Linked DNA regions of Homo sapiens: region 2 is linked to region 1. The links are contacts of gene promoters, found by promoter capture Hi-C in human tissues and cell types (Jung and others, 2019). All regions are on one chromosome and are shown on one strand. Each heading gives the region's core, a stretch centred on a gene start or on the middle of the fragment in contact. The rest is flanking DNA. Distances are from core to core; before and after follow the strand shown. Region 1 holds the start of SAP25 (Sin3A associated protein 25). Region 2 overlaps ZKSCAN1 (zinc finger with KRAB and SCAN domains 1).

Region 1 (3,485 bases), core at 25-2,524:
AAGGACAGGGAGGGGAAAGAGCTCTCACCTGCTGGGGGGCCTTGGACAGGTACAGGGGAACACGCTGCCCCCGGGGCAGCAGAGGGTCCGAGAGGAAGACATCTTCACAGCACACCACCGGGAACCCTAGGAGGAAACACCACTAGGGTGGCGGGCTGCGGGCTCCCACCCCTGGGCACTGGTTCCCAGAGGAGTTGGGGCAGCCTTGCGCCCCCGGGGGACCAAGGGAGGTACCTGCATCTGGGGGCGCCTGCTGTCCATTCCAGTGCCCTGTGGCAGGGGCCACGGGCCTGAGACCCCTGCCCGAGGCTGCTTCATACAGCGGCCAGAATGAGGGGTGACACAGCGTCCGGCCTGAGAACGAGGCTCCTGAGCTACAGTTGGCCCCCTAGGGTGAGGAGGACAGAGCACTGGAGCCTCAGGCCACCGCACAGCTCCCTGAGCACCCCAGCCAGTCCCACAGGTTTGCCCCCAACTCACCCACACCGGCCGAGGTCCTGCTTTGGCTTCATACTTGGGGTCCCAGGGCGCTAGTGGAGTCATCCTCGAGGGGGCCACCTCCCAGGCCACCTGGGGGGAACGGGGATCTGGGGGGACGCTTGGGGATTATAACAGGCTCACAGTCAGTGAGAGGCTCTTAGGGGTAGTAGAGGCAGCAGGGCCTGTCCTACCTGGGGCTCCGGGGGGCTGCTCAGTGGCCGGGCCTGGCAGGTGGTGGGGCAGCAGCAGCTGCTCTCTCCAGATCCAGGAAGGGCTACGGGATGGGGGCTGTGGGCTGGAGGGGCAGGGACTGAGGCTGCAGCCACACCGCCCCCACGCACCCTCCCCTGGAGCCCAAGGGTGCCTGGTGCAAGGGAGACCGAGGGACCCAATCTCCAGCAGGGACAATGGAGAAGCCTCCGTAGAGCGCGTGGTGAAGGCATGGAGGCCCCCAGTCGCTGTCCCCCCACGGCTCCGTCCGAGCCCCTCACCTGTCCCATGGGGGTGTCCCCAGCTCCCTGGGGGCGTCCGCTCCGGCGCTCCAGGGCTCGCCCTGGTCCTTGCCCGCCGGAAGGCCTGGTCCCTCGGGCGCCTCCTCCGGGCCCGCGCCCCACCGCGGCGGCGACCAGGGCAACATTCCGCGTTCCCGAGCGCAGGACGGTACCGCCGTGTCCCCGCCGCCCGGCCCGGCCCTCTCAGCCTCCCTCCGCGGCGCGGCGCGAACGTGCCCTCCTGGCGAACCCACCCCAGAGGCCTCGCGGCGACGCTGGCGCCCTGTGCGTCTCCCGGCCACGTGGCGCGTGCCCCCGCCGGGCTCCCGCGGGCGCCCCCTGGCGACTGGGCGGTGAATTCCGGAAACAGAGGCCCCCCCAACAACCCCGCGACGCACGTGCTCTCAGACACAGTTACACCTGAGGGCCACCCAGAGGGCTTCTGGCTTCTGTTTATTGCGGCTGACACGACACCTGCGACACCCGCGGTCCTTCCACCCAGACCCTCGACCCCAGAGGCAGCCAGGCCGGCAGGCCAAGGGTGCCCAGGCCCAGGCCACCCTCACCACGTGCTTCTCTGAGAGCGCGGAGCCCAGGCGCGTCTTCTGCTCCCGGGGTCCCGGGCGGGGTGGGCCCTGTGCCCCCACCTTCACCCCTAAGGCCGGTCCAGCAGGGCGTGGACGACAGCAGCGATGTAGGGGAGGCCCCTTCCCGGGGCCCCCTCCTCTTCCAGGATGTGGTGGGGCTGGCACAGTGACTCCTGGGGGAAGGGGCCGGGTTAGCTTCCCCACGGTGCCCCCTGCGGCTTCCGGCCTGTGGCAGGGGGTCGGGGGCAGACCCGAGCATCACCGTGCGCTCGGGGCTCGGCGACAAATGAGACGCAAGAAAGCTGTCAGCGATAACAGAAGGGAGGTGACACGGGGGGTTGGCGGACGCTCCGGGAGCATGAGAGGCCGGCATCTCAGGAGGGAGATGCTGGTGGGCACAGAGCCATGGCCACAGCCACCAACACGCGGAGCAGACGCGCGCGCGCGCGCACACACACACACACAGGCAGGGCGGCCACGGTCTGTACAGTTTATACACAGAGATAGGGACCCGGCCTGGGCCCCGAACCCCTACAAATATAGATCCTCTCTACAAAATAGAGATAATTTAGCCCCCCCATAGCAGCTGTTGGGGGGGGAAGGGGAGGGCACAGGAGGAAGGGGGAGACTCCAGCTCCTGCCACCCCTCACGGGGTACAGAGGGCAGGGGCAGGGCCGGCGGGGACATGAAGGCACCGTCAGCACTGAGAGGTGGGGACTCGTGGGGCTACTGGAGGGAGGCCAGAGGCTGGGGGCCCAGGGTCTGGGGGCACCAGAGTGGGGCCTCTGAGGTCAGTGTCTGTGAAGGGGGTGCACTAGTGTCTTTGGTTGGGGCTGAAGGCACCGCAGGTGGGGTCGGGTGGAGCAGGGACCTTATAAATAGAGAGGAAGGGAAAGGGGTGAGGGAGGGCCGATTTTGGGGCCTAGGAACCCAGGAGCCGAGTGTAGGTGACATAGAGCAGCAGCATGAGGACCACGTAGAAGACGACGAAGCCGCCCAGACCAGAGGGGGGCCAGAGGGGCGGTAGGGCCTTGCCCCCCACCCGCTTCACGGCCTCCAGCGCGGTCCGCAGCCCCCGGGCAGTGCCCTGGAGGAGATCCGAGGGCGAGCACAGGTCAGCCTGGGGGAGAGGAGAGCAGGTGGACAAGGACAAGGGACAGACGTCAGCAGCAGCAGCAGGACAGTCCCTCCCACCCCTGCCCTCACGTGCTGGGGCCAGAACCACGCCCACATGCTGACGTGCTGGGCAGGGGGAGTGCAGTGCAGGAGGAGTGCAGGGCAGGGCATGTGCAGGACAGGTGACATGCAGGACAAGATGGGGCCTGCAGGGCAGGGGATGTGTAGGACAGGTGACATGCAGGGCAGGGGGCATGCAGGGCAGGGGGCATGCTGGGCAGGGCAGGGGCAGCCTGTGCCTTCATCTGAGAGCAGACATCCGCTGCAAATGGAAGCCCACCATCCATGCCACATGCTCGGCTGAGTCCGGCATGCCACCACTCTTTAGAAAGCAGCCCCCATACCTCAGGCACCCCCATTTTTCGACAGGCTTCTAGAAAACTCTCCACATTCTTCCGAGCCTTGAGGGCACTGAGTTTTGGCTGGGGTGGGTGAAAGAAGAAAATGTGGTAAGGGAGAGGCCACAGGCGCCCCGGCCCATCCCCCACCTCTTCCCCAGCCCCAACTGACCACAGCAGGGGAGGGCACATGGATGAAGGGCACGGAGCGCGGCCGTAGCTGGTTGGCCAGCTGGCACAGGATGACCCCACTGGCCAGAGCCTCGGCCAGGTCCTCAGGCAGGGGCCGCTGCAGCCGGGACTCAAGGACCTGGCAGTGTAGACCACATAGAGCAGGGGTCAGGGAAGGAGAGGCGTCTGGGAGGCAGGGAGAGTGGGGGGCTCAGGGCTAGCAGGGAACTTGTGCCTGTCC
Region 2 (3,485 bases), core at 476-2,975, 530 kb before region 1:
TCTGACAATTTGAATCTGAGATTCTCACCTCCATTTACTAAAGAATCGTGACTTAATTCAAATTGCACAGTAATCAGTAAAGTGAATACGTTTTTAAAATGGAATTTTCTCCCTTCAGCAAGCACTCATTAAGGAGTGAGGCTGAGTATTTTAAGATAGAGTGAGATCTGTGAGTGATTGAAAGGTGATATTTAAAAACTTGGATTTCATTCCAGTGTCAGGTTTGGGTTTTAAGTTCCTTTGGTCCAGGGAAGGGTCCAAGCAGCCACAGTTGCCCTAAATCTCCATCATTAAGTCTTCCAGCAAGGTTAAGTGCAGTATGGAAGGAGAAGGGGGAAGAGGACGGTAACGGCCCCACACTCCAGGCTGAGAAAGAGTAATTAGGAGGCCTGAGGAGGGGCCGAGGAAAGGCTGTTGGGGTGTGCTGGGGTTGGTACCCGAGCGCCTTCCCCTCACCTCAACCAGAGAAGAGCATCCGGTTGCTTTTTAAAGCTTTTAGCCTGCCCTAGCAAGGACAAAGCATGTTAGATTAGAGATGCTTCTGCTGATCGCAGGGGTTCTTATTTGAAAACATCTATGATGGGGGTGGGGTGGGAGGAGACAGGTTGTGGTTATGCAGGAAAATCTTGTCCTAAAAATATATGAGTTTGGGGGTAAGGGGTGGGATAGCCAAGCAAAATCAGTAATTATTTTAAAATGAACATATGTATTTTTATTAACTTTTAGTTAAATACAGATTTTACAACGAGGTCAGCATAAGCCTAAATCTATATAGAGGGCTAACTCAGGCATTGTCTTGTTTATTTGTAGACTGGATTAAAAACAACCTGTCCTGTTTTGTCAGTTCCCAGCTTCTTCGTTTAGAATAAATTAGACCAAAAGAAGAAACGTGCTTGTCTCTGTATACCCGCAGAATGAAGTTACTGTTGTTAAAACTGGATTTTTTCATTTTACTAGGTTCCGAAGAGTCCAGATGCTTGGTAGATGTTCAATACGTGATTTTTTTTTTAATTGAATGTGTTCATTTAAAATCCTCCTTAACATTTCTAGAAAGACTTCTTTCAATAAATAATGGAATCTTAGAGGAAAAGTGGTTTTTTAAAAGCTAGGGAACTCCTCCACTAAAAGTAACCATTGGAAACCTCGAATGAGGGCTAAAGTTTTAATCATAAGAGAAAAGGCAGCATAATGAAATGTGTACACATACATAGTCAGTGGTCCATTTTAGGAAGCCAGTGGCGTCTGATAAAGAAATGTTAAGAGTAGTGAGGTTGAGGAAGGAAATTGTGGGGATTTGAAATATTCTCTTTATGTTGTTTCTCTTCTGAGTCATGGTAAAACAATAAATTATCATCTCTAGGTGGCAGTGCTTGTGCTGGTTTGTTTTTTGTTCTTTGTTTTTCTCATCCTTGGTTGCATAAATACACATTGGGGGTGAAGAAAAAAAAGTATTCCAAAGTTAAAAGACTGGAGCTGCAACCCACAAACAAAATTCTCATGCAAAACTATCTGTTTACTTTGCAAACCAAAATTAAATTTCAAAGGCCACCCAGTCACCTGAATGGACCTCTCCTCTCAGCCAAGGGCATTCCAAAGTTAACCTGAAAAACTAGTTCAGGCCATGATGGGAAGGGGGAGCCAAACATGCCTCATTATACCCTCTCCCCATATGGAATTACTGATAACAACAGACTCTTTAAGACTGATAGACATGGCCAGCCATGGTGGCTTATGCCTGTAATCCCTGCAGTTTGGGAGGCCGAGGCAGGCAGATCACCTGAGGCCAGGAGTTCGAAACCAGCCTGGCCAACATGGTGAAACCCCCTCTCTACTAAAAATACAAAAATTAACCAGGCGTGGTGGCGGGCGCCTGTAGTCCCAGCTACTCGGGAGGCTGAGCCAGGAGAATCACTTGAACCCAGGAGGGGGAGGTTGCAGTGAGCCGAGATCGCACCACTGCACTCCAGCTTGGGCAACAGAGTGAGACTTTGTCTCAAAAAAAAAAAAAAAAAAAAGGTGAACTGGGAGGATGTGAGGTTGTGTCCAGGAGGCATCCAAACACATCTCTGACTGTTTTTACTCACACTTCTGACACAATGTGGGATTTTTTTTCATACACCAACCAATTCTCTGGACACCAACTGGGTGCCATACGATTCAATTCAATTCTGACACTACCTGTAACTGATGCAGACTCCACAGGTTGTGGGCTCAGTCCCTCAAGACTGCCCCCATTTCAGACGCCAGTCTTACATTCCGGGTTTTCACCTGTGCTTTGGACCGGCTATAAATCAAGGGCTTCCACAATCTTCTCCTCAGTCTCAGGTTTGATAATTTGCTGGGATGGCTCATAGGTCTCATATATATTTTTATTATATATACACATGTGTATGTGTATATGTGTATAGATACACGTGTGTGTGTGTGTGTGTGTGTGTATACGAATACACCACCACACCCAGGTAATTTTTGGGTTTTTTTTTTTTTTTTTTTAGACGGAGTCTCGCTCTGTCTCCCAGGCTGGCGTGCAGTGGCGCCATCTCGGCTCACTGCAAGCTCCGCCTCCCGGGTTCCCGCCATTCTCTTGCCTCAGCCTCCCGAGTAGCTGGGACTACAGGCGCCCGCCACTGTGCCCGGCTAACTTTTTTTGTATGTTTTAGTAGAGACGGGGTTTCATAGTGTTAGCCAGGATGGTCTCGATCTCCTGACCTCATGATCTGCCTGCCTAGGCCTCCCAAAGTGCTGGGATTACAGGCGTGAGCCACCGCACCTGGCCTTTTTTGGGTATTTTTTGTAGTGACAGTCTGGCTATTTCCCAAGCTGGTCTTGAACTCTTGGGCTCAAGTGATCTGCCTGCCTTGGCCTCACAGGTGTGAGCCACCACACCCAGCCCTATTTTTTCTTAATAATTATTTTTTCTTTTATAGAGATGGGGGTCCCCCTATGTTGCCCAGGCTGGTCTCGAACTCCTGTCCTCAAGCAATCCTCCCACCTTGGCCTCCCAAAGTGCTGGGATTACAGGCGTGAGCCACTGTGCCCGACCCAGAACTGGATTTTATTTTTCTTTATTTTTGTAAGACAAGTCTCGTTCTGTTGCTCAGGCTGGAGTGCAGTGGCACGATTGTGGCTCACTGCAACCTCAACCTCCTGGACTCAAGCAATCCTCCTATTTCAGCCTCAGCTGGGACTACAGGCATGCATCACTACGCCTAGATTTTTTTTTAATTTTTTGCAGAGACAGGGTCTTGCTATGTTGCCCAGGCTGGTCTCAAATTCCTGGGCCTCAAGCAATCCTCCCACCTCAGCTTCCCGAAGTGCTGGGATTATATTCATGAGCCACCATGCAAGGGCCTAAAATCCAGTTTTAGCAAGAACCCTGCTAAGTTTAGCAAAAACCTCCCACCCTCCATATCTACTTAGGCTTTTTTCTTTTTCTTTTCTTTCTTGATTTTTTTTTTTTTTTTTTTTTTTTTTTTGGAGACAGA

Evidence for each region. The method cuts DNA at HindIII sites, captures the fragments that hold promoters and counts their contacts. A contact is called where the count stands out against the background at its distance.
Region 2: a contact is called between a fragment that was not itself captured here and the fragment with the promoter of SAP25 in region 1, in 1 of the 25 tissues and cell types used here (spleen).

Annotation. Positions count from the first base shown.
Region 1 is chr7:100,572,626-100,576,110 of GRCh38, forward strand. It overlaps SAP25 (Sin3A associated protein 25), which reads right to left and starts at 1,275. Exons shown (of 6, transcript NM_001348680.2): 1 at 972-1,275; 2 at 672-775; 3 at 481-587; 4 at 235-388; 5 at 29-126. The coding sequence starts at 1,117. It overlaps LRCH4 (leucine rich repeats and calponin homology domain containing 4), which reads right to left. Exons shown (of 18, transcript NM_002319.5): 16 at 3,246-3,383; 17 at 3,080-3,157; 18 at 1,386-2,679. The coding sequence ends at 2,482. RefSeq lists enhancers at 2,139-2,693, 2,694-3,247. The HindIII fragment of the contact is 26,041 bases long and covers 1-3,485 here.
Region 2 is chr7:100,040,324-100,043,808 of GRCh38, forward strand. It overlaps ZKSCAN1 (zinc finger with KRAB and SCAN domains 1), which reads left to right. Exons shown (of 6, transcript NM_003439.4): 6 at 1-1,366. Among named protein-coding and RNA genes, the nearest start is that of ZSCAN21, 7.7 kb to the right of the region's middle. The HindIII fragment of the contact is 5,629 bases long and covers 1-3,485 here.